Linked DNA regions of Homo sapiens: all the other regions are linked to region 1. The links are contacts of gene promoters, found by promoter capture Hi-C in blood cells and fetal thymus (Javierre and others, 2016). All regions are on one chromosome and are shown on one strand. The core of a region is centred on a gene start or on the middle of the fragment in contact, and the rest is flanking DNA. Distances in the headings are between cores, read along the strand shown. Region 1 holds the start of CXCL2 (C-X-C motif chemokine ligand 2). Region 2 overlaps RASSF6 (Ras association domain family member 6). Region 3 overlaps RASSF6 (Ras association domain family member 6). Region 4 has its middle 18 kb from the start of RASSF6. Region 5 has its middle 24 kb from the start of UMLILO. Region 6 has its middle 15 kb from the start of CXCL6. Region 7 has its middle 4.8 kb from the start of CXCL6.

Evidence for each region. The method cuts DNA at HindIII sites, captures the fragments that hold promoters and counts their contacts. A CHiCAGO score of 5 or more calls a contact.
Region 2: a fragment that was not itself captured here is called in contact with the fragment with the promoter of CXCL2 in region 1 in 2 of 17 cell types (fetal thymus and neutrophils); the score reaches 9.3 in fetal thymus.
Region 3: a contact is called between a fragment that was not itself captured here and the fragment with the promoter of CXCL2 in region 1, in 2 of 17 cell types (neutrophils and fetal thymus). The highest score is 6.9, in neutrophils.
Region 4: a fragment that was not itself captured here is called in contact with the fragment with the promoter of CXCL2 in region 1 in 1 of 17 cell types (neutrophils); the score reaches 8.0 in neutrophils.
Region 5: a contact is called between a fragment that was not itself captured here and the fragment with the promoter of CXCL2 in region 1, in 7 of 17 cell types (M0 macrophages, M2 macrophages, monocytes and 4 more). The highest score is 8.4, in M0 macrophages.
Region 6: a fragment that was not itself captured here is called in contact with the fragment with the promoter of CXCL2 in region 1 in 3 of 17 cell types (monocytes, M0 macrophages and M2 macrophages); the score reaches 6.1 in monocytes.
Region 7: a fragment that was not itself captured here is called in contact with the fragment with the promoter of CXCL2 in region 1 in 1 of 17 cell types (monocytes); the score reaches 5.1 in monocytes.

The regions. Positions count from the first base shown.
Region 1 is chr4:74,097,581-74,101,421 of GRCh38, forward strand. CXCL2 (C-X-C motif chemokine ligand 2) reads right to left here and starts at 1,615. Exons shown (of 4, transcript NM_002089.4): 1 at 1,441-1,615; 2 at 1,219-1,342; 3 at 1,021-1,104; 4 at 1-191. The coding sequence starts at 1,540. The coding sequence ends at 176. The HindIII fragment of the contact is 3,135 bases long and covers 1,077-3,841 here.
Region 2 is chr4:73,596,275-73,600,115 of GRCh38, forward strand. RASSF6 (Ras association domain family member 6) reads right to left here. Exons shown (of 11, transcript NM_177532.5): 3 at 2,366-2,444. Among named protein-coding and RNA genes, the nearest start is that of RASSF6, 22 kb to the right of the region's middle. The HindIII fragment of the contact is 4,104 bases long and covers 1-3,841 here.
Region 3 is chr4:73,613,803-73,617,643 of GRCh38, forward strand. The region is part of intron 1 of RASSF6 (Ras association domain family member 6); the gene reads right to left. Among named protein-coding and RNA genes, the nearest start is that of RASSF6, 4.7 kb to the right of the region's middle. The HindIII fragment of the contact is 3,705 bases long and covers 387-3,841 here.
Region 4 is chr4:73,636,060-73,639,900 of GRCh38, forward strand. No RefSeq gene overlaps it. Among named protein-coding and RNA genes, the nearest start is that of RASSF6, 18 kb to the left of the region's middle. The HindIII fragment of the contact is 4,804 bases long and covers 1-3,841 here.
Region 5 is chr4:73,684,387-73,688,227 of GRCh38, forward strand. No RefSeq gene overlaps it. Among named protein-coding and RNA genes, the nearest start is that of UMLILO, 24 kb to the right of the region's middle. The HindIII fragment of the contact is 2,192 bases long and covers 911-3,102 here.
Region 6 is chr4:73,819,270-73,823,110 of GRCh38, forward strand. No RefSeq gene overlaps it. Among named protein-coding and RNA genes, the nearest start is that of CXCL6, 15 kb to the right of the region's middle. The HindIII fragment of the contact is 1,254 bases long and covers 1,183-2,436 here.
Region 7 is chr4:73,839,561-73,843,401 of GRCh38, forward strand. No RefSeq gene overlaps it. Among named protein-coding and RNA genes, the nearest start is that of CXCL6, 4.8 kb to the left of the region's middle. The HindIII fragment of the contact is 1,931 bases long and covers 1,067-2,997 here.

The sequences.
Region 1 (3,841 bases), core at 365-2,864:
ACAAACAAATAAATAAATAAATAAATAAATAGAAGACTTCTCCTAAGTGATGCTCAAACACATTAGGCGCAATCCAGGTGGCCTCTGCAGCTGTGTCTCTCTTTCCTCTTCTGTTCCTGTAAGGGCAGGGCCTCCTTCAGGAACAGCCACCAATAAGCTTCCTCCTTCCTTCTGGTCAGTTGGATTTGCCACTGTAATGAGAAAATGGGTGCCCTGAGTAGGTGCTCAGGAAAGCTGACTGCACAACAGTCTTCTCCTGTCCTGTTTCCCCAGGCTCTAGAGTTTTCTGAATGCAGTTTCCCCAGCCTGGCACCCAAGTGGGTACTGCCTGTGACAGCTGTGCTGTGTGGCAAGGACCTCTAGGCTTGGGATGCTCTTTTAGGAATGGGGGTGACGTGGGGTGGAGGAGTGGCAGTCTACACTGTTTTACTGGCTAAAACAGCCAGAGCCTATTGCTCTTTGTCATACTGGGCCTCACTTGAGCCTCAAAGCAACCTCATGATGTAGCTACCATTATTTTCCCTGTTTTGCTGAGTCTCAGATAAACTAAATAATATTGTCTCTGAGTGACATGGCTAATAGGTGGTGGCAACCAGTTATATACCCAGTGCAATATTATTGTGAAATCTCTGCACTTCAACCCTAAACTTTTACAAAAAACCAGGGGGTCTGCTTTTCAGGTCTGAAAGTCAGTAGGAACTAGGGGAAATGAAGCTTGTGTTTTTTAACAGGTGGAAAACACTTCAGCACAACTGGCAAACTCCAATGAGACCTTACATGAAAGCAGTTTTACCTACATTCACTGGCAGGAGGGAAGAACCTGGGTGGTGACCCTGGGCACTGGGAATATCCTCTGGCACCAGAACAGATTAATAACCTTAATGGCAACTTTGTGAAAATAATAATTTTTTCAGTCCTGCAGCTAACCCTGGGTTTTCCTGATTTACTTTTTAGGGGGCAGACGCCAGTATTTCTGACCAACAGCTCCAGTCGCCTGTGTACATGGAAATTATAACTTACTTTTTCAGCATCTTTTCGATGATTTTCTTAACCATGGGCGATGCGGGGTTGAGACAAGCTTTCTGCCCATTCTTGAGTGTGGCTCTGCAGAGAGAAGGGAATCTCGTGAGACAGGAGGTCGGGCTGAGGACAGGGTTTGGGGCAGCGGGAGAGTCGGGGACCCCAGCAGTGGCAGCGGCAGCGATGGGCGAGACTTACATGACTTCGGTTTGGGCGCAGTGGGGTCCGGGGGACTTCACCTTCACACTTTGGATGTTCTTGAGGTGAATTCCCTGCAGGGTCTGCAAGCACTGGCAGCGCAGTTCAGTGGCCAGGGGCGCTCCTAGGGAAGAAGAGACTCGCTGATTGAGCGGGGCTGTCGGCGCGGGGCGCCCACCCCAGCCGCGTCCGGCCCGGGGACCCCAGGGCGCCGGGACCCACCTGCTGCGCGCCGGCTGGCGGCCACCAGGAGCAGGAGCAGCAGCGCCACCCGCAGGAGCCGGGGATTGCTGGGGGCGGCGGAGAGCGTGGCGCGGGCCATGGGGCTCAGCAGGCGGTTCGAGCGGCTGTGCGAGGAGGAGAGCTGGCAAGGAGCTGCCTGTGGCCCGGGCTCTGTGGCTCTCCGAGAACGGCGAACCCCTTTTATGCATGGTTGGGGCTGGAAAGCCCGGAGTCCCGGGCCAGGGAAATTCCCGGAGCTCCAGATCGATCCCGAGTTCGGAAGGAAGGCGATGGCCCCGCCTCTGGGGTGGAGGGGGGTCGGGGCACTCACGAGTGACGTCCGGGTCTGACTGTCTTGCGTAACTCCCGCCAACTGTGGGATGTTCTCTTTCTGCCCCGAATCCCTGGAGCGGGAGCGAGAGCCCGCCGCTCTCAGAGATACCGAGATAACCGCCTGCGAGGAGGCGCTTCGTGAACCCAGTGCAGTGCGTCGTGGGTCAGATCCCTTAGACCCACGTAGGGACCGCGCTACATCCTTACCGGGGGGAGTTACTTCTCTGGAAGACATTTCAGTTGTTGGGATTGAAAGTTAGGGCAAGAACTGCAGCATGTCTTATCTATCCTCTCTCTTTAGTTTGGGTTCTGCAAATTTCATTAATGTTTGAAATAAACGCACGCTTTAACAGTACATGTGTCATCTCAGATGACGCATAAGAGCTTTTGTCTCCTTCCTGGTGTTTTATGATCTTAAAAGCAAATATCACGTGTGTGTGTGTGTGTGTGTGTGTGTGTGTGTGTGTGTGTGTGTGTTTCAACGTAGTGGAGCCAGGTGTTGGGTGCGGGAACAGACCATTGCCAAGGGTCAATTCAGTGTTTATTTTAGTTAACAGTGTTGCAATCCCCCATCCTTTCTCTCTTTGAAATCTTGGAACATCTCGAACTCTAGTAATTCCAGTAGCATCAATTTTTTGTTGTATGGAAGTCTGTGTTTTGATCCATGGAAGTCACTGGGAGCTGCGAGGGGCCTGTTGGGCTCAGGAGGTCTGCCTTTTCTAGTGCTGTCCCTGGGCAGAAAAGGCCATAGACACCACCAGAAAAGGAGCAGGGAATGAGACTCCGCTTGTTTACTACTCTAAGCACAAGCAGACATGTCTGATATATACATACTAGATTGCTAACATAATTGCATTTCCATGCCATATGTATTTACCAGCATCCTGGGATTGGTTCCCTCTAGAGAAACAGCTATCGAGGAAATTTTAGTTCTAGAGGAATGTCAATAAAGCATTTCCAAGCCTGTTTAGCTGATGCCTTCTCACTGGATTACTGACTTTTCATCATCAATTTCAATGACCCCCTCTCTTTAAAAATTAAGCTGTAGGCCTACAATACTCTGTCTTAATTCTTCCTGGTGGATGCAGACTTCAGGGATATGGAGATATTCTGCCACTGCTATGAGAAGGGCTGGGAGTGGCACGAGGATGAAGAAGTGGGACTACCTTAGGAATAGAGTGTTCCCTGGATGCTGCAGCTGTAGAGATCACTTGATAAGGATGTCAGGGCTGAAGTTTCAGCCATACCACTAACTTGCTTCATGACCCTTGGTAATTTATGCTTTATTTGCTCATGTTTCTCCCCTGTAGAAGAGCTTATAATAGTGCCTGCCTCACGGGGTTGTTAGAAGTATTGATTGTTAATATGTGTAAACCATCAGTGCATGTAAAGTGTTATGTAAATATTTGTTAAATAACAAAATAGAAGTGGTGTTTCACAACCTTACTGATATAGGCTGGATGTTTGTGTCTCTTTCAAATTCAGATGATGAAGCCCTGACTCCCTTATGTGCTAATATTAGAAGACAGGACCATGGGAAGTAATTAGGTTTAGGTGAGGTTATGAAGGTATGGCCCCCATGATGGGATAAGTGCCATTACAGCAAGAGATCAGTGAGCTTTCGATCTCTGGCTCTCTCTCCCTTTCTGCATTGTGAGGACACAGCAAGAAGGCCACCATCTGCAAACTGAGAAGAGGGCCCTCACCAAGCATGAAATCTGCCAGGATCTTAATCTTGGACTCCCCAGCCTCCAGAACTGTGAAATAATTGTTGTTTAAGCCCCCTAGCCTATGGCATTCTGTTATAGCAGCTCAAACTGACTAAGACACTTAACTAAACAGAAGCACTCTGATAAAGCCTTATGAACACACACACGCACAAAGAAAGAAATATTTTCAAAGAAACATCTTCTAATTTACCTTTAAAATTTTTCAGCATCAGAAATTTTAAAGGAGGGTGCATTTCTATCCTTATGGGATCTTACAATAATTTTTTGATCCATTGTTTGTTTGAAATTTTAGTTTCAATCACTTTCCACATAAAATGAGAATAAGAGTAAAATTCTAC
Region 2 (3,841 bases), core at 785-3,284, 500 kb before region 1:
GCAACTTCAGCAAAGTCTCAGGATACAAAATCGATGTGCAAAAGTTGCTAGCATTCTTATACACCAACAACAATCAAGCCAAGAGCCAAATCCCAAACAAACTCCCACAAAAAGAATAAAATACCTAGGAGTACAGCTAACAAGGGAAGTGAAAGATATTTACAAAGATAACTATAAGTCACTGCTCAAAGAAATCAGAGATGACACAAACAAATGGAAAATCATTCCATGATCATGGATAGGAAGAATTAATATTGTTAAGATGGCAATACTGCCCAAAGCAATTTGTAGATTCAATGCTATTCCCATTAAACTACTGTTGACATTCTTCACAGAAATAGAAAAAACTATTTTAAAATTCATATGAATCCAAAACAGCCTGAATAGCCAAGGCAATCCTAAGCAAAAGAACAAAGCTGGAGGCATCACACTACCTGTCTTCAAACTATACTACTGGGCTACAGTAACCAAAACAGCATGATACTGGTACGAGAACAGACACACAGACTGATGGAACAGAGTAGAGAACCCAGAAATGAGACTGCATATCTACAAGTATCTGATCTTCAACAAATATGACAAAAACAAGCAGAGGGGAAAGGATTCCCTAGTCAATAAATGGTGCTCGGATAACTGGCTGGCCATATGCAGAAAACTGAAACTGGATCCCTTCTTTACACCATATACAAAAATTATCTCAGGATGGACTAATGATCGAAATGTAAAATGTAAAACTACAAAAACACTGGAAGATAACTAGGTAATACCATCCAGGACACAGGCATGGGCAAAGATTTCATGATGAAGATGCCAAAAGCAATTGCAACAAAACCAAAAATTGGCAAATGGGATCTAATTAAACTAAAGAGCTTCTGTACAGCAAAAGAAACTATCAATAGAGTAAACAGACAATCTACAGAATGGGAGAATATTTTTGCAAACTATGCATCTGACAAAGATCTAACATTCAGCATCTACAAGGAACTTAGACAAATTTACAAGGGAAAAAACCAAACAACCCCATTAAAAAGTGGGCAAAGGACATGAGCAAACACTTCTTAAAATAAGACATACATGTGGCCAGCAATCATATGAAAAAGCTCTACATAACAGATCATTAGAAAAATGCAAATCAAAACCACAATGAGATACCATCTCACACCAGTCAGAATGTCTATTATTAAAAAGTCAAAAAATAACAGATGCTGGTGAGGTTGTGGAGAAAAAGGAACCCTTATACACTGCTGGGGAGTGTAAATTAATCTAATCATTGAGGAAGACAGTGTGTTGATTCCTCAAAGACCTAAAGACAGAAACACCATTTGACCCAGCAATCCCATTACTGGGTATATACCCAATGGAGAATAAATCATTTTATTATAAAGACATATTCACACATATGTTCATTGCAGCACTATTTATAACAGCAAGCACATGGAATCAACCTAAATGCCCATTAATGATAGATGGGATAAAGAAAATGTGGTACATGTACACCATGGAATACTATGCAGCCATAAAAAAGAACAAGGCCATGTCCTTTGCAGGGATGGAGCTAGAGGCCATCATTCTTAGCAAACTGATGCAGGTATAGAAAACCTAATACTGTTTGCTTTCACTTATAAGTGGGAGCTAAAGGATAAGCACACATGGACACATAGAGGGGAACCACAGACACTGAGGCCTATCAGAGGGTGGAATTTGGGAGGAGGGATAGGACCAGGAAAAATAACTAATGAGTACTAGGCTCAATAGCTGGGTGAAGAAATAATCTGTACAACAAACCACCATGACACATGTTTACCTATGTAACAAACTTGCACTTGTACCCCTGAACTTAAAAGTTAGAAAAATGCTTTCTAGCTTCAGGACTTTCCTGAATTCTTTCTTTAATATTTCAAAATTTTTATTATTTTGATATAGTGCACATCTATTGGAATCTAATGCATTCATTTTAAAACCCAAATCAAATTTGACATTACAGATGCATCATAATTTATTTGAATAATCCCTAATTGATAGAGATGTCTTCAATTTTCTGCATTACAAATGACATCACAATGAATATCTTTCTATATACATTCTGACGCATTTGTAAGAAAGTATTGTGATAGATTTTCAGTGTAAATGCTGTTAAAATATTCATATTCTATTTTTAAAATAGAAAGAAAATATGTCATTAAAATTTTTAAATGCTTTTCTATCTCAAAAATGCTTAGAAAGTCACAAGTGTTCCAAGCCCAAGTCTAAAAGAATCATAATCAAGTTAAACTTTCACCTGTTTCTTCCAGAATTGTGTGTGTGTGTGTGTGCACGCATGTGTGTGTGTGAATAACACCGGATTGCCTTTCTTCAGTGGGCTTACCTCTCCATATAAAATATGCAGATTTTTCTGGTTCTCATAAAAAATGTTATAGGTCTTCAATAAAGAATTAAGTTGTTCCCTAAAAATAAAAAAAAATTAATTACAATCAGTCTTAGAGTTTTTAACGTAAAAGGTGATAATGGTACTTTCATAAAGGTATGAGATAGAAAGAAATAGTTTAATGGAATCTTTACTGTTCTGTCACTTTAACTTAACATAAGTCATTGGAAGTGGAAGCATTCTTAAAATATCAGCAAATGTTGAAGTTGCTAATTCATAAATAAATAACCAAAGGTGGGAAATGACTGAGGACAAAAATGGTGAGAACAGTGTTCTGTAGCAGGAGGCAGCCACGAAACAGGAATTTGGTTTCATATTCCTTTTTGTATTTCAACATTTTTAACCAACCTAAATTAAGCACTGGTGTGTGGCTGATACCATCTCTCTATACACTACTCCCTCCTGTGTCCCCAGGGCATGGGATGGGACACCAGTGCCCCAACTCTCCAAATCTGTGTTCCCTTGTGTAAGTCACTTAGTATCCCTGAATTTCCACAGCTGTGAAATGAAGGTGATCTGTCCTACTTGCCGGGGCTGTTTAGACTATTAAAGGCAACCACAGAAGTCAAAGATCCCAGCTGGCTGGGTGAAGCAACAGTAAGCAAAGGCTCATTGTTACTGTGGCAGGGGAGCTTCTCTCCTGGCCTGCCCCACACAGCTGACAATGGCCGACTTTGGCCAGGAAAGTTTGTAGGGGAGGAGCCCTCTACCTTTCCGCCCTTCTAGCTGGGTATCAAGATCTGAGACCAGATGTGCTGGTGAGTGACTCAGCGCTTTCTTGCCTGGAAACTCCTCCCTGTGTCTCCCACTGGGAAAACAGCTGTGGTAAGGAATGCTCCTGACTTATCTCACCCTTTGTGGCAGGTGGGCCCTGGCAGTGGGAACACTGGCTCTTACCATACCTCTATTCTATCTTTCTCTCAGTGTCTCTATGTCTTGAGATGCTCCTCTTGAGATGATCATCATTTCTCACTTGGATTATTGCAGCAGCCTCCTAAAAGCCTCCCTGTATCTGTTGTTTACTCTCAACAGCAGAAACTGTTTTAATGCAAACCTGACCATCTCTCCTCTTTGCTCAGAACTCTTCAATGTCTTCTTGTTTTTCAGATTAAAAGCCAACATCCTTACAATGGCTTAAAAGGCTGGATGCAACTGGTCTTCTGTTACCTCTTTCATCTCATTTCCTCCCACCCTTCCCTCACTTCATGCAACCACCAGCCTCCCTGGTGTTCCTTGGCCACTCCAGACAGATTCTCATCTTGGGGCCTTTGCACTTGCTGATCCCTCTGCCCAGAATGATATTCCCCCAAACGTTCACCTTGCCAGCTCATTCATCTTCTTTAATTATTTAATCAAAAGTCATCTTCTCAAGAAGTCCTTCCTGATCACCCAATCTAAAAGTTCACCTTCTCCCAG
Region 3 (3,841 bases), core at 989-3,488, 480 kb before region 1:
AGTCTCCTTTGCTGATTCCTCCTTTGTATGATCACTAAATACTGGCTTGTTTGAGTGTCCATTCTCAGCCATCCTTTCTTCTCTATCTATACATTCTTCCAGGTAATCGAATCTGTCTCCATCCCATAATCTCTGTTGAGCTCCAGACGCATGTCACCACCTACCTAATCTCTACTTAGATGTGTACCAGGCATCTCGATATCTACATGGCTGAAAAAGAACCACTGACTTTCTCCCATGCTCTAAAATTTCCTCCTCCACAATTCTTTCCCATCTAGGCATCAAAACTAATATTTAGTCTCATTTTTTCCCTCTTTCATCATAAGCCAAATTCAATCCAAAAGTAAGTCCTATTCACTGTACCACTAACATATTCCAAATTCGAAAGCTTTGATTTCCACTGCTACTACCCTAAGCCAAGCCACCATCATCTTTTTCCTGGATTATTGCGTCAGCCTACTAGAGGGCCTCCCTCTGTTGTGGTCTGAATGTTTGTGTCCCCACAAAACCTAGATGTTGAAACTTAACCCCCAATGCAATAGTATTAACAGGTGAGGACTTTAGGAGGTGATTAGTTCATGATGGTGGAGACTTCATGAATGTGGTTAGTGCCCTTATAAAAGAGACCCCAGAAGCTGCCTGGACCCTTCCACCATGTCAGAGCATAGCAAAAAGACCATCTAAGAACCAGACAGCTTGCTTCCCTCACCAGACACTGGGGATATTTGGAACTGAAGAACCACTGATAGCAGCTTCTTATAATTACAAAGTGAAAATTGGCAGTGATGGACTGAAAAATCATTGCAGTAGCTTTCCAACTGGCTCACTCTTTATTTGCATTCATAAGAAATATCAAAGATATCATTAAAGAGGGCAAATAATTGCAATGTAGTTATAGTGACACACTGTTGATCTATGCTGAGGTAACTCATAGCCAGCTTCAGAAGACTTCAGAAGATGTGATGAAAGGGTTTCCAAGGCTCTTATATTATTTTCTGACTTTAGGAAGGAAGAAAGTTGAATATAATTTAATGTAAGAAAATAAAAACAGGATAAAATTTTCATTCATAGGCAGCACATAATATTTGAGTAGGAAATAATATTATTCATGTCTGATCTAAAAATTGGGTAAATAAAATATTCAAACAGTTTAAATACCTGAAAGGTAAGAACATGCTTTGGTAAAAGTCCCATTGTTAGTATTAACAGTGAAGTGAAATACAAAAGTTAGCCGGGTGTGGTGGAACACACTTTTAATCCCAGCTACCTGGGAGGCTGAGGCCCGAGAATCACTTAAACCTGGGAGATGGAGGTTGCAGTGAGCCAAGATTGTGTCCCTGCACTCCAGCCTGGGTGATAGAGTGTGACTCTGTCTCAAAAAAAAAAAAAAAAAAAGAGCAAAACAAATAAACAAACAAAAACAATGAAGTGAGGCATAGATCTATGAATTCAAATAGTTTTTCATCCTCATCTTCCCATTCCCATTCACCATGATTCATAGCAAACTAAAACCTGCTAGGGCCCTTGTGAAAATCTCCTAAATTATAAAGACTTGGTAGATATAAGCATCTGAGCAAATTTTCTCAAGGACTTAAGAGGAGAATAACAGAGAAGTCATGAATAGCAACGAGGGAGAGAATTTATGAAGAAAGAAAAAATTACAGTTCTAGAAGCCTGGAGGTCTTACTTGGGATGTTCAGTAATTTTGGTAGAACATAATAAACTACAACTTGAGGAGGAAGATGGTTGTTACAAATCTATGTAGGCCCTGGGGCCAGAGATTATTGACTTAGATTGTGTGTAAAATAAGATCATTATTTAATAAGTTTGGTTATTTACTTTTTCATTTTGTCCAGAAACAATGAAGCTGGAGAAACAGGGAATTAGATAGGTCAGCAATTAAGTCCTGGAGAAATCAACAGCACTAGAAGTATAGGAGAGGTAGAATTGGTCTGAACAAGCCAATGAGATCTGGATGGAGCCTGAGGAGGCAGTGTTGGGCAGCATTAGCGTTCCAGCAATGCTGGAACGTGGTTCACCTCCCCCTGCTCTGCATTCCTGCCTAGAGGTGGGCTTGCCTGGACTTACCAGTTGCCTTGTGACCAGAATGAGGCCAGAGGACAGGAAGTGAATTCTAGTACAAATTAAATCAAATGGGTCAGTCATTTAAAGTAACTTCCTGTTATCCAACCATGAGTTAATTAAATGGTTACATATCTAAAAGTGGAAAATTGGGTTCACTCGTTTGTAAATTCAACAAATATTTCACGAGTTCCTTCTCTGCACCTGCTACCGTGCTAGGCACAGAAAGTATAGCCTGTATCTATATCTATAGCCTCTTATTTCTGAGGCCACAAGGTGCACAAAGTGTCATAATGCTAATGATTTTACAAAGAACTAATATATATACATATATCTATATCTATCTATCTATCTATCTATCTATCTATCTATCTATCTATCTATACATATATATACAGGTGCTAACTTCCCTGTATTTCCCAGCCAAAGACAATTTCTCTTGCTTCTGAAATTTCACAGGAAATTTTCTGTAGCTTTCTAATTACTTACTGCTTTCTCTCTCTAACCATATTTTATTTTACTTAATTTGATTACTAGGTCCTTTAGGACAGAATTATTGCTATTTCATTTTTGTGTCTTCTAAAGTGAGTGAATATATGCAGGCATATAGATAAAACATACACAAAATATTGAATACATCCAACATACAGAGAGGTATATTATAATATTAATGGTAAAATTAAGAGCTAAGAGATTATGTGTGATAATTATTTCTTTTTTTATTTTGTATGTACTGTCTAAATCATAGACAAGGAATATATGTTACATCTCTCTCACCCACGTCCCCAGTAAAAGCTACTTAAAAAAAGAACAGAAAGTATCACACTAGAATAGCAAGTGTGTATTTCAATTATGAGATAAGAGTATGTTAAGGGCTGTACACACGGAGAGTCTTTTTAATAAAATATTGTTTCAGCTTGAAGAAGCAATAGAAAGTTACAATTATGTATTCATCTCCAAAACGAAACTGTTTTCTCAAAGTTATGACCTGGAACCTTGGAGTAGAGAAGAGCAGAGTTATATGCAATTACATCACTTCAAGAAAATGAGACAAAGCATCTATAATTCCATCCAGTATCTAGTTCTCTCAAAAAAGGAAAAGAGTTAACAGAGTGATGGTTTCTGGGAAACATTTGGCTCCATACTTTTTCTTAAAATGTGCTTTATTTGCAGAGACAGTAAAGGTCAAGAGTTGGCATATATACAAACTATCACTTAATTAAGTAATATTGGTTGCAGTCAGTGATTGTTGGTTTTGAGATAGAAATAATGTATTATAATCATTGAATCTAAGAGAGGACTAAGCAGAATATGAATCAAACACACTTCTATGTGAGCATGCCACTGCCCTCAGTTCAAGTGGAATCTAATTGGAAATGCCAAAACTTTACTGTTCTATTGCATATTTACATGGTACTAATGCCATGCATTTTATTCTGCTCAAGGTGCCCTCAGGGAGATAAAGAAAGCAGAAACGGTCAGAGAAGCAAATTTGTATTAAGGCACTTAAGGCATCTTGCCACCACTGGGTCTGGGAGGCGCTGCTCAGTCTGCCGACAGCATCTTCTGGAATTACTGGTGTGGTGGAACTCAAAAATTTTCTGCTTCACCTGAGCTTCCCAGTAGAAATTCTTAGGCTGACGTCACAAAGATCACGACTCATTTTTCCTGTTTGTATATTTGCTGCAAAAGAATCGACACTCTCTCCTCTTAAGCTCCTTTACTAGGCTCTAGGTGATGATGAAGTTTTCCTTTAAGT
Region 4 (3,841 bases), core at 977-3,476, 460 kb before region 1:
GGACATTACAAGAAATGAAAACCACAGACAAATATCCCTGATGAACATAGATGCAGAAATCCTCAACAAAATACTAACTGAATCCAACAATATATAAAAAAGATAATACAAAATGATCAAGTGGGTTTTATCCCAGAGATGCAGGGGTGGTTTAACATACACAAGTCAATAAATGTGATGCATCCCCTAAACAGAATTTAAAACAAAACCATATAATCATCTCAACAGATGCAGAAAAAACATTTGATAAAATACAGTGCCTCTTTATGACATAAACCCTCAAGAAGCATAGAAGGGACATACCTCAAAATAATAACAGCCATATTTGACAAGCCCACAGCCAACATTATACTGAATGGGAAAAAAGTTGAAAGCATTTTCCCATAGAACAGGAATAAGACAAAGATGTCCACTTTCTCTATTTCTATTTAGAATAGTACTAGAAGTCCTAGCCAGAAGAGTTAGGCAAGAGAAAGAAAGAAAGAAAGAAAGAAAGAAAGAAAGAAAGAAAGAAAGAAAGAAAGAAAGAAAGAAAGAAAGAAAGAGAGAGAGAGAGAGAGAGAGAGAGAGAGAGAAAGAAAGAAAGAAAGAAAGAAAGAGGGAAAGAAAGAAAGAAAGAAAGAAAGAAAGAAAGAAAGAAAGAAAGGAAGGAAGGAAGAAAGAAAAGAAAGAAAAGGGAAGGAAGGGAACAGAAGGGAAGGGAAGGGAAGGAAAGGAAAGGAAAGGAAAGGAAAGGAAAGGAAAGGAAAGGAAAGGAAAGGAAAGGAAGGGAAGGGAAAGGAAAGGAAAGAAAGAGAGGAAGGAAGGAAGGAATTCAAATTGGAAAAGAGGAAGTCAAACTATGACTGTTCATTGATGATATAATCATAGACCCCCAGAAAACCCTAAAGATTCTTCCAAACGACCCCTAGATTTGATGAATAAATTCAGTAAAGTCTTAGGTTACAAAATCAATGTACAAAAATTAGTAGCATTGCTATATACCAACAATGACCAAGCTGATAATAAAATCAAGAACTCAATTCATTTTACAATAGCCGCCAAAAAATAATTCTTGGAATATACTTAACCAAGGAGGTGAAAGATCTTTAAAAGGGGAACCACAAAACATTGCAGAAAGAAATCACAAATGACACAAATAAATGAAAAAACATCCCACGTTGTGGATTGGAGGAGTCAATATCATAAAAATGGCCATACTGCCCAAAGCAATCTACAGATGCAATGGAATTCCTATCAAGATACCGACACATTTTTTTTTTTACAGAGGTGGAAAAAACAATCCTAAAATTTATATGGAACCAAGAAAGAGCCTGAATAGCCAGAGCACTCCTAAGCAAAATGAAATAATCTGGAGGCATCATATTACCTGCCTTCAATTTATACTACAAGGCTATAATTACCAATACAGCATGGTATTGGTATAAATGTGGACACACAGACTAATGGAACAGAACAGAAAACCCAGAAATAAAGTCAAATACTTCTAAGCAACTGATCTTCAACAAAGCATACAAAAACATAATTCTGGAAAGGACACCTTATTTAATAAATGGTGCAGGGAAAACTGGATAACCACATGTAGAAGAATGATCTGGGCCCTTATATCTCACTTTATACAAAAATCAACTTAAATCTAAGACCTGAAACCATAAGAATTCTAGAAGATAACCAAGGAAAATCTCTCCTGGACATTGGCCTAGAAAAATAAGTTATGACTAAGACCCCAAAAGCAAATGCAACAAAAACAAAAATAAATAAATGGGACCTAATTAGGCTAAAAAAACTTCCATTAGGCAAAAGAAATATTCATCAGAATAAACAGACAACCCACAGAATAGGAGAAAATATTTGCAAACTACCATTGAACAAATGACTAATATCCAGAATGTACAAGGAACTCAAACAAATCAGCAAGAAAAAATTCAATTAAAAAAGGGACAAATGACATGAATAGATATTTCATGAAAGAAGATATACAAAAGGCCAACAAACATATGAAAAAAATGCTCAACATCACTAATCATCAGAGATATGTAAATTAAAACCACAGTGAGATATTATCTTACTTCTACAAGAATGGCCATTATTAAACAGTCAAAAAACAATAGATATTGGTATCGATATCGATTTGGTGAAAAGGGGACACTTACACACTGCTATTGGGAATGTAAATTAGAATAACCTCTATAGAAATCACTATAGAGGTTTCTTAAAGAACTAAAAGTATATATACCATTTGATTCAGCAAATGGTAGATATACCAGATACTGCTAGTATTTACCCAAAGGAAAAGAAGTCATTACATCAAAAAGACATTTTCTTGTGTATGTTTCTTGCAGCACAATTCACAATTGCAAAGACATGGAACCAACCTAAGTGCTCGTTGCCCAATGAGTGGATAAATAAAATGGTATATACACACCATGCAATACTAGTCAGCCATAAAAAAGAATAAAAAAATATATTTTGCAGTAGCTTGGAGGAGCTAGAGGCCATTATTCTAAGTGAACTAAATCAGGAATGGAAAACCAAATACCATATATTCTCACTTATAAGTGAGAGCTAAGCTACGGGTACACGAAGGCATGCAGAGTGGTATAATGGGCTTTGGAGATTTAGAAGGAGGGGATGAGATGGGGGCTGAGGATAAAATACTACATATTGGGTAAACTGAATACTACTTGGGTTACAGGTGCACTAAAATCTTATACTTCACCACTGTACGATTCATCCATGTAATCAAAAACCACTTGTACCCCCAAAGCTATTGAAATTCAAAAATAGTTTTAAAAATGTTATAAACCATTGATTGTAGTTTTTAGATGGATTCACAACTGCTTTCTGTCCCATCCTTAATAACTCTAGTTACAAGTGGGTCATAGGTGCTTGCATAGTTTCAGAAAATAGGAGACAGTTGAGTTTATGTTGATTACAGCCACAACAAACAGCTCCTGGAGCATATCCTGTTTGCAATAAGGGATCCTTCCTGGGCTAAATTCTTGTGATGTCAAGCAGATCATGGTATACTGACAGAAGTAAGGTAAGCACTTGAGTGATGTAATTATATACCTTATGGGCAGTGTCTGCATGTATATTATGAAAACACACAGTGAAATAAATACTACTCTATCTGAGCCACTCTTATTTAGGCTATGTAGTTTTCCCCTCTAATTTTCACAGTTTACCTTTGCTTTTGGCATCTAATGTTCTGTGCTTTTTCTGCTTTTATTTCATGTTGGTCCAACAATCCCAGGAATCTTGAGTAGTTCCCAAATTTTGGGGGCACTATGACCTATTTCTTCTGTTTAAATAAACTTTATGGAGGCTTAATTTAGATTGTGTGAATAAAATTTACTATACCACACTTTCTCAACTGAATTTTGCTACTTTTGTAGAAAATAATCTGTTCATTTGTATGTAGATCTTTTCCAGAAAATTATCCTGTTTCATGGATACATTTGCCTAACATTATCTCAATACCACATAACATTGATTACGCTTCCTTTATAATATACCTTGCAGTCAGGTTGTATTAATTATCTAATATTATTATTATTTTGCAAAGTTGTTTTGCTCTTCTAGGTTCTTTGAATTTCCATATAAATTTTAGGATTAGCTTGCCATTTTTTACTTAAAAATTTAGCTGATATATGTGTCATATATGAACATATATATAATTTTTAATTTTTTGTGAGTACATAGTAGGGTGTGTATATTTTGGGGTTACATGAGATATTTTGATACAGGCATGCAATACACAGTAATCACATCGGGCAAATGGGGTATCCATTCCCTCAAGCATTTATCCTCTATGTTAAAAAAATACAATTATACTCTC
Region 5 (3,841 bases), core at 757-3,256, 410 kb before region 1:
GGGATAGGCCAGAGTTTGAGAACCCTGAGGGGCCATGGCAAAGGGTCTGTACTTTATTCTAGCTACAGTAAGAAGTTGTTGGAGAATTGAAGCAGGACAACAAAGTGATTTTATTTATTTATTTATTTATTATTTTTTAATTTAAAGATCACCCTTGCTGTTGTGTAGAATAGAAGCAAGGAAACTGTTGTAATAATCCAAGTAAGAAAGGATGATGTTTAGAATAAGGTAGTTGCAGTGAAGACAGAGAAAAGCAGACAGGTTTTAGATGCATTTTGAATATAAATATACGAGGACTTGATCTATTAAGTGGCATTGTGGCAAGGATAGGGAGAAACTGAGGATAAGTTATTGGTGTTTGACTTGAGCAACTAGGTGAATAATGGTCTCATGTACCCAACTGAGGAAGCCTTGGGTGTGAGCTGGTTTGCAGAGGGAAAGAGCTCTGTGTTGGCCATAAGATCCTGGGGAGACCCCAAGACTTCTAAGTGGAGCATTATTGCTAATGATACCTTCCATTTATAGATTATATCATACACTGTTACAATTTCTATTTGTGTGACTGATGGATTGATTGCATGGGCAGATGAGGCGAGCTGGACATGAAGGAGACGTAAGTGAAGAGAGGAGAGGACACAGAAGCAGGAAGGAGAATGTGCTCAAAGATGAGATGATTGTTGGTGACTGCCATGCAGAATCTAGCCTTGGCTCTGCCATGTACCCCTGAGAGGAATATCAGTTCTCTTTCCTCTCCCATGTCCTCCTCTGACTATCTTTATGGGGACTGAAATGAGGCACTTTTCAAAAAAGGTAAGCAATAATTGGCCCATATCTCCTTTCTTATGCAATCCTCATTTATCTTTGAGATGTTATCACACTTGATATATTCCCATTCCAGTTGTCATATTAAAGCTTCTTAGTCGATGAACTTCTAGATTCACTTAGATTTAGGAGCCAGGAAAAGAAAATATTTATTCTAATATGTTGACATTTACCACTCTGATATTTATATTTCAGTAAGTATAACTTGAATGATTTATTTAAAGTATTTTCTAAAACCATAAAGTAACACTGAAGACAGATCATGAATGATGTATTTTCTATTATGTACTCAGTTGCCAACTGAATTTTAATTTTCAGAGGAATGCTATCTTAAATTACTAGATAATATTTATGTCAGTAACTATATTTTTTTTATTTTTTTATTGTGGAACACATAGGAAATAGCAAAGATAGTACAGAGGAGTACAGTGTACCTTTAATCTGGTAACAGGCACTATTTTAAAAATCTGAATATAACACGCCCAACACAGGATAACCCAGATTCATAAAGCAAGTTCTAAGAGACCTACAAAAAGATTTAGAATCCCACACGATAATGGTGGGAGACTTCAACAGTCCACTGATAATATTAGACAGATCATTGAGGTGAAAAATTAACAGATATTTGGACCTGAACTCAACATTAAAATAAATCTGATCGTAGAGAATTATATTTTCAGACCTCTACAGAACTCTCCACCCCAAAACAAGAGAATATACATTCTTCTCATTGCTATATGGCACACACTCTATTAATTGACTAGCAGTCAGACATAAAACAATCCTCAGCAATGCAAAAGAACCAAAATCACACAAACACACTCTTGGACCACAGTGCAATAAATATAGAAGTCAAAACTTTAAAAATTGCTCAAAACCATACAATTACATGGAAATAAAACAACCTGCTTCTGAGTGACTTTTGAGTAAATAATGAAATTAAGGCAAAAATCAAGACTTTTTTGAAACTAATGAGAACAAAAATACAACATAGTGGAATCTCTGGGATACAGCTGAAAGAGTGTTAACAGGGAAATGTATAGCACTAAACACCAACAACAAAAGGGAATATTTCAAATTAACAACCTAATATTACAACTGAAAGCATCAGAGAAGCAAGAGCAAACCAACCCCAAAGCTAGCAGAAGATTAGAGATAACCAAAATCCAAGCTGAGCTGAAGGAAATAAAGACATGGAAAACCATTCAAAAGATCAGTGAGCCCAGAGTAGTTTTTCTGAAAAAATTGATGAGATAGATAGGCTGCTAGCTAAACTAATAAAGAAGAAAAGAGAAGATTGAAATAAACACAATTAGAAACAACAAAGGAAATGTTACCACTCACCACACAGAAATAAAAATAACCATCAGAAACTACTATGAACACCTCTAAGCACACAAACTAGAAAACCTTAAAAAGATGGATAAATTCCTGGACAATATAACCTCCAAAAACTAAACCAGGAAGAATTTGATTACCTGAACACACCAAAAATGAGATCTGAAATTGAACAAATAATAAATACCCTACCAACCCCCCAAAAAGCCCAGGATCAGATGGATTTAGAGCTAAATTTTACCATATGTACAAAGAAGATCTGGTGTCATTTCTACTGAAACTAATTTTAAAAATTGAGAAGGAGGGACTCCTCCCAACTCATTCAATGAGGCCGGCATCATTCTGATACCAAAACCTGGCAGAGACACAACAAAAACAGAAAACTTCAGGCCAATATTCTTGATGAATATTAATGCAAAAATCCTTAACAAACTACTTGCAAACCAAATCCAGCAGTGCATCAAAAAGTTAATCCACAATGATCAAGTAGGCTTTTTCCCTGGAATGCAAGATTGGTTCAACATACACAAATAAATAAATGTAATCCATCGCATAAGTATAACTAAAGACAAAAACCACATGATTACCTCAATAGATGCAGAAAAGGCTTTTGATAAAATTCAATGTCTTTTTATGTTAAGAACTCTCAGTAAACTAGGTATTGAAGGGACAAACATCAAAATAATAAGTCATCTATGGCAAACCCACAGCTAACATCATACTGAATGCGGAAAAGTTGGAAACATTCCCCTTGAAAACTGATACAAGACAAGGATGTCTTCTCTCACCACTCCTATTCAACATAGTATTGGAAGTCCAGGCCAGAACAATCAGGCAAGAGAAAGAAATAAAGGCATCCAAATAGGAATAAAGAAAGTCAAACTGTCCCTATTTGCAGATGACATGGTTCCATATATAGAAAGCCCTGTAGTCTTGGCCCAAAGCTTCTTCAGCTGATAAACAACTTCAGCAAAGTTTTAGGATACAAAATCAGCATACAAAAATCTCTGGCATTCTTATACACTAATGACAGCCAAACTGAGAGCCAGATCAGGAATGCAATTCCATTCACAATTGCCACAAAATAAATAAACAAATAAATAACCTAGAAATGTGGCTAACCAGGGAGGTGAAAGGACTCTACAATGAGAATTACAAAACACTGCTCAAAGGAATGAGATAACACAAACAAATGGAAAAACATTCCACGCTAATGGATAAGAAGAATGTATATCATTAAAATGGCCATATTACCCAAAGCAATTTACAGAGTCAATGTGATTTCTATCAAACTACCATTGATATTCTTGACAGAACTAGAAAAAACATTTTAAAATTTATATGGAACCAAAAAGGAGCCTGAATAGCCATGGCAATCCTAAGTTAAAGAACAAAGCTGGAGGCATAATGTTACCTGACTTTAAACTACAAGGTTACAATAACCAAAAGCAGCACGGTACTGATACAAAAACAGACACATAGGCCAATGGAACAGAATATAGCCTCCAGAAATAAGACCATACACCTATAACCATCTGATCTTTGAAAAAGCTTCCAAAAATGAGCAATGGAGAAAGGACTCCCTATTCAATAAATGTTGCTGGGAAACTGGCTAGCTATATACAGAAGATTGAAACTGGACTATTTTCAAACGCCATATAGAAAAATCAACTCAAGAAGG
Region 6 (3,841 bases), core at 560-3,059, 280 kb before region 1:
TTGCCTGTCTCTCCTGTCACTTAATGTTATGAGACAACAGCCTTGTTCCTCATACAGTCAGAGATCAATAATGTCTTTGTAACAAATGCATTAATAGATTAATTAACAGAAATAAACCTTTATGATTTGAGTTCTAGTGCCTTTCAACTGAGGGTATATTATGAAGAGATTGAAATTCTTTGCAGAAATTGTTACATTAAAGAAACAGATGGATATGGGTCTTCTATTTCATAGAGACCCAACATGAACTACAGCAGCAATAGCAGTGACAGGTCTAGTCCAAGGTCTTGGCACATTATTCTAAGAGTAAGCTAGGAAAAATTAATCAACTTGGCTACCAGAACGTAGAGGTGGGGACAAAAATAAAATAATAATCTCTTTTCGTCTTGCATATCCTCTTAGAAGACCTCATGAGTTGAATACAAATAGCTGTTAATTGAGGAAAGTTTCATTGCATATGTATTAGCAGGGTATATTGAAGGGTCATTCATGGATAGGATTATGGTACTTTCTCTACATAAAGTGAATGTTGGCTATTCACAAGACAAATTATTAAATTAATCAGTGATTCATGGAAGTGTTAGAATAAGTCTTGGGGATTGCTTTATTAGAGATTAGTGACATTAGGACATCTGTTGCATAATAGGACTATTGGTAAAGAGTGGGCAAGAGAGTTATTACAAGATCCCATTATCCAAATATATCACCAATTCAAAAAGAATTCTGAAAAACAGCATGTAAATGTCTATTGATTATAATACTCTTAATTGTCTATTTAAGGCCAGTTATAAAAGCAGTAATTTTGACCTCCATATCAATCAGGATGAATTTGTTTGCTTATTACAAAATTAGTGTTTTATAGTTAGGATGATATCACCAGATAGATGAAGAGGAATAGGAAAACCCCACCTTTGCTCAGTGCAGTTTCTCATGCCTTTAAATAATAAGTGTCTCAGGAGATGTATCAGAAGTCCCTGATAGGTTTCAACACAAAATGAAGAAGGTGGTTTATGGTGAGACCCACCTAGATGGGTAACTGTAGCAGCAGGTAGTGGCAGTGACAGCAGCTATAACTTGTTTTAGCAGTAGCTGCAGCAGCAGCTATAATAAAAGCATCCACTGCCCAGTGTTGCATGTTGAGTGTCAGCGATGCAAGCCATGGTGTCTCTGACCTGTGGGAAAAGCTTACTTTACCTTCACCAGTCTGGTTCTGCTACATGAATTTGGGCATCGTTCTCGATGTGCATCCTCTGAGACTTGCTCTCTGGCCCTCCTAAAATTTATGTGAGCTTCTGAGTGTCTTTTTAAAATATACTTCTTTTCTGTTTAAATTGTCATTTGTTATTTGTAACTGATTGTATCATTGTCTTTAGCAAGCTGTTAGGGTAAAAGAATCTGCATGAAGTCTCTTTCAATATCTCCCTGGAGAAAGCCAGTTCTGTGAGGCTTTTATGCACAAGGTGCTCCTCAGGAGGGAGTGAGCAGCAAAGTAACCAAAAGTTATTCCTGACATCCCACTGATAATCAGCAGTTTCTTTGGGAAGCAAAGTTACAGAGCAAAAAGATTATGGGCCTTGTAACCAGAAACTACCATTTACAGTGTCTATAACAAGTTGATTAATCTCTCTGGGACCTTTTTTTCCTTATATGTATACACAAATAATAACATTTATTTTGCAGGGCTGTTATAAGATTGTGGGAAAATTGATATGAAGGATTGAGCCAGGTGCTGTAGAAGATGAAAAATGAGTTGGGTAATGCAGGAAGAAGAAAATGAATTGAACATGAGGAAAAACAGTGAGACTGATGATCACTAAATATTGGGGTCCTCAATGCACCATTTGAGACCATGATGTGAGCTCTCTCTCTAGGTGGATTCCACAAGTCATTCCTTATGTGATGTCTCTCACACACATAGCTTCAGCACAAACTTCTTCCCTGAGTTCCAGAATCATAAACAACTTGTTCCATGATATTTTCACTTGGATATTTCACAGGAATTTACAATTTTAAACGTCTAAAAGAGGATTTTTTTTTTATTCCACTGCTGTGTAAACATGTATTTCCCCATTCTTTCATATCTCAATCAATGGCATCCCCATACAGAGTTGTTTCCATCAAACAACAAGGAAACATTCTTGAATCTTCCATTGCCAGTATCCAAACTCTTCAGAATGTCCTGGAGGTTGTAACTGTGAAATATATAGAGACTCTTTCATCATCTCTATGTCTCAATAGATATCATCCTAGCCCAATCCGTCATAATTTTTCATCCAGAACAAGGGTTGCCAAACTTTCCGTAAAGGACCAGAAAGTAATTTTGTTGTTGTTTTGCAGGATATACAGTTTCTTTCACAATTATTCAACACCGTCATTACAGTGTGAAAGTAGCCATATGTAAAATGTGTGCAAATCATTGCAGCCGTGTTTTGCTAAAGCTTTATTTACAGACATGTGGCAGACCAGACTTAGACCATCCTGATAGTTTGCTTAGCTTTCACCAAGATTGTTGGAGTTGCCCTCTAACTTGAGTTTCTTTTTCTTTCTTTTTCTTTTTTCTTTCTTGAGATGGAATCTTGCTCTGTCACCCAGGTTGGAGTGCAGTGGTGCTATCTCAGCTCACTGTAACCTCCGCCTCCTGGGTTCAAGTGATTCTCCCGTCTCAGCCTCTTGAGTAGCTGGGATTACAGGCACACATCACCATGCCCGGCTAATTTTTATATTTTTAGTAGAGACGGAGTTTCGCCATGTTGGCCAGGCTGGTCTTGAACTCCTGACGTCAGGTGATCAGCCCACCTCGGCCTCCTCAAGTGCTGGGATTACAGGCGTGAGCCACCATGCCCAGCCTAACTTGAGTTTCTTAATCCAAAGTTGACACTACGACATTTCCACACAGAAGTCAGATTAAAAAAAAACAAAAACAAAAACAAAAAAAAAAACAGATCATACCTTCTTGTAACATAACATCCTTGAATTGCTTTCTACTGCAAATAAAATAAGTTATAAACTCTGCATCTTGGCCTAGAAATTTCTGCATGACCATGTCCCTGATGACCTCTGTGATCTCACTCATGTCATTTTCCCCCTTTCTAAGTTCCAGCCATCAGCTGCTACTCTTAGTTATGAAAACATAGCAAACTCGTCCTGCTTCTGACTTTTGTCCTGCCGTGTGTTCTGCCTGGAACCCTCATTTCTATGCTCTTTGCAGGTGTGTATCATTTCTATTCTTCTGGTGTCAGCTTAAAATTTCACCTTCTTAGTGACCATTGTTCTAAGCTAAGCATTCCCAGCCCATGATCTTTTTGATCAAGTGGTGATGTTACTCTGACTCATAGATCTACCATAGTCTCTATATTGTTTCTTTGACTGTTTTATTTTTACTTCTCCCACTAGCAAATGAGGAGAGTCCCATGAGGACAAGGTCCTGTACTGCTCTGTTCATCATGTATCTTGAGCACTAACACAATGAAGATTCTCCGTAAATAGAAATTGGGTATTTGAATGAATAAAATGAAAATAGAGAAAGCTAGGTGCAAATGAAGAGTCATTCTGCAAGGCAGGGAGAAATTAATTGAGAAAGTTTCTACCAGACAATGATAAAGAGTGACATAGAGAGGGAGAAGAAGAGGGAGAAAGGGGAGGGAGGGAGGGAGGGAGAGAGAGAGATAGAGAGAGAGAGGAATTGAAAAGACTAAACCAGGGAAGGTTCAAATTTGTGCTGAAGGGAACAGAAGAGCTGACTAAGACAAAATAAAAGACTTTATGTGGCATTGAATCAGCAGAAAGAAATTGGGAAACATGAGGTGCTGTGATCTGGATGCTTGTATGACTTCTTAAAAAT
Region 7 (3,841 bases), core at 782-3,281, 260 kb before region 1:
TTAAATTGTAATTTGTTCACCTTCTTTTCTCCTTCTTGTCTACAGGTAATCCAACAGGGCTTTAGCATGTGTAATCCACCCACCCCTCATTTTCACTTAGCTACCTCCCATCTTTCCTTCCTTTGGGGATAGCTTACATATCATTTTCTTGATACAATCTTTATAACTCTTACTCCTCCCAGATTAAGATCCCTTTTATATACTGTCATAGCACTCTGTACTTTTTATTCATAACATTTTCTCATGAAGGTGACTTTAGAGTTTATAGAGCATATAGACATGTGGTCATGTGTTTAGAGTCTATCTATTCTAGCTTCACTGTAAGTTCTATGAGAGCAGGGACAATGTTTATCATCTTTATCTCAGTTCCTGGTACAATGCCTAGCACATAGTGTATATTTAAACAAATGAGTGATCTGGTTAAACAAGTCTCTCTGTTTCTCTAGTATTAAAAGTGTCGTTTCATATAAAATACCTGTTCTTAGGAAAAGCAAGAAAATGAAACGAAGAAGACTAACCGAATTAGTATGTGTATACATACATTCACACTGCAGCTGGATTAATATATTATATATGTTTATATTGGCACGTACTTGTATACTTTAGTATATCTAACCTAGGCTTTCCTGTATGTTTTATCTCTCTCTTTATATATAAAATATAAATTGGATTAATATTTTTTAATTATTATATATTGATATATTTAAATAACAGAGAGAGAAAGAGACACAAAGATATGAAAAAACTTAAAAAGTAGCTTCAGAGATGGGTTTTCTAATCATTTTTTCAACAATAAAAAAGTACAAAATATCTCTAATTTTTTAAAATGCATTAAACTTCTGTGGTCTCTTTTTGCTCTCTCAAATGGTATTTTTTTTGAACTTATGGATGATACAGTAATTCTGGGGAAATACTAGAAAGCAAACCAAATTACAAAAATGAGCTCTAAATTTCAGTGTTTAAAACAATCCCTGCTATGTCACATTAACTCCAAAATACTTATTGAAAAATGCTTGATTATAAAAGATTAAAGAATATTAAATGCCCTTTGTACAGGTGAAATATAAGCTTCATAAGGAAATAAACATTGCTGGTTAGTTTTTTGTTTTTGTTTTTTTTTTTTGAGACCAAGTCTCACTGTCACCCAGGCTGGAGTTCAGTGACACAATCTCGGCTTACTGCAACCTCCGCCTCCCAGGTTCAAGTGATTCTCCTGCCTCAGCCTCCCATGTAGCTGGGACTACAGGCATGCACCACCACGCCTAGCTAATTTTTTGTATTTTTAGTAGAGATGTAGTTTCACCATGTCGGCCAGGCTTGTCTCAATGGTTTTTTGTTTGTTTGTTTTTTTGTTTGTTTGTTTGTTTTTATCATCAAGCTCTGTTTTTTTAAGAAGCAACACTTGTAAGTTTAGTTTGTTCATAGAAATAGAATGAAACATGATTTCTAATATTCTTGCAATTCTAGTTGTCAGGCCCATTCCGCAAATGGTCACTCTATAGAGAAAATAGATTACAGTATATTACTGAAGAGTAACCTATACAAGCAACTCAATGATAGCTACTGTTCACTCTTTCAACCATTCCTAGTTGATCTTTCTACTAGCAAACTCAAGGACTAACATATTTGGGGAAACTTAATCTAATGTAAATATCCTAGGGATAAGTCTTCTAGTTTCTTCATACTAACCCCTAAATACTATTTTCACTCTGTTATCCGTCTGAAACTCTATCTTATGTATAAAGTCACTAGATATTGAACAAATGCTCAGCTAAAATCTACTCTGTTACTGCTCCAATCCAGACAATTTTAAATGTATAATTAATGTCCTTCATTATACCAGAATTTCCTGTTTGCCTCTATGTGTGACGCATTCATATAATCCTTCAATTCCTGAAGGTATGACAAGATCTATGATAAAATATGACTAGTGGCTTTGTTTTTCTATCATGATTTTAATTCTTGCTTAAGGAAAATAATTGCTGTGGATAACTCTCATGTTGTATATAACTTCAAAATACCTTCCTGTATGTTACAAAATGAGAAATTTACCAGATGGAAGGAGCACTTGGGGATTTCTAGTTGCCTCCCTGACTAAATCAAGGAAGAGGAGGAGAAGGTACCATGATTTGGATTTTGGCTGACAGTCCTGGTTCATTCTTAGTCAGAAAAATTAATGTTATATTCCTAAGAAGGATTGTTCATACCTCAAATATGTGGAGTGAGATAAGAACATAGAAAGACCTAGAGTTTGGGTGTATAATTTTGTTTCTACAAATTTCAAAGTTCTGTTTCTGAAACATAGATAAGTTGCAAGGACGCTTCTCTGGAAAATCCACTTTTTTTTTTTTTTTTTTTTTGACGGAGTCTCGCTCTGTTGCCCAGGCTGGTGTGCAGTGGCGCAATCTCAGCTCACTGCAAGCTCCATCTCCTGGGTTCATGCCATTCTCTTGCCTCAGCCTCCTGAGTAGCTGGGACTACAGGTGCCTGCCACCACACCCAGCTAATTTTTTGTATTTTTAACAGAGACGTTTCTCTAACACATAAATTTATGTTTGTTTTTAATCTACCTCTAGGGTTAGATAAAGAGAAAACTAGTTGACTTACTTCCAGCAAGAGAAGCTAATTATACTTCTTTATATTTTGTGGTGCAGTACAGAATTAGAGCAATTGCATTTCAAATCTAGTTTTGTGTATTTCCAGCTATGTGAACTTGACAATTTGTTTCACATCTACCTTCCCCAGCTTCCTCACCTGTAAAATCAGTATAATAGCTATCTCACAGGCACTACCCTGGAACAAAGTAGATTCTTGGTAAATATTATTAATAATTTCTTTCCCAAGACTCCTAGTTCAAACTCCCCCTTACAAATGAGAAAACTGAGAACTTAGTAGTTTAAACATACTTATTTTTTCTTAATTTATTTATATTCTTTTTACATATGCATGACTAATTATTAGTACTCCTAAAATTTTTTCTATGAGTCTTTTTATAGAAGCTTTTGAAAGCTGTATATTCTATTTTTTTGTGAAGTACATGGTAACTATCAAAAATTATGATGTATTTTCCTTCATATAAACATTCTTCAATCAAATATCAATTTATTAACCTTTATTGATAATCTTGTTACATACCTGACCCTATGCAAGATCCTTATAAATCTGGAAATTATAAAAATGAAGAGCTTTCTGTCTGAGTTAAGATCTCTTTACAGCAAATATACTGTTTCCCACAGAACAAAGATTTTCTAATAAGGGGAGAGAAAGAAAGGGGAGGAGAGGTGAGGGGAGGGACTAGGAGAAAGGAAAAGGAGAAGTAAGAAAGAAGGAGGAGAGTGGAGGGGCTTGTGTTTTGTGTTGACTTTTTTTCTATTTTCTTTCTTCTTTCCCCTTCCCTCTTCTCCTCTTCTCTCCCCTTTCCTTCTCTCCCTCCCTTCATCCTTTCTGTTTATTCCTCAGAAGTAAAATAATGCTATTTAAAAGAGGAAGAGAAGGACCCAGGTACCCTAGCAGAAATCTCAGCCAGCAGCCAACACCAACCACCTCTCATAGGAATGAGGCCAGTTTTGATTTTCATCCATTTCAGTTTCTTCTGACTGCACCCACTTAATTGAGCTTAGCAGAAGAATCTCACATTAACGTGTAGAATTATCAAAATAATAAACTGTCATTTTAAGCCACTAAATTTAAGGTTGACTTCTTACACAGCAAAAGAGGATCAAACGGTACTTGCTAACAATTGAATGTGTTTGCAGACTCTGGAAAAACATCGTACTGGAATTTCCTCAAATGAATGAATATGTAATGAAAGTGGGTAACAGTCATACATTTGAGACTCAGC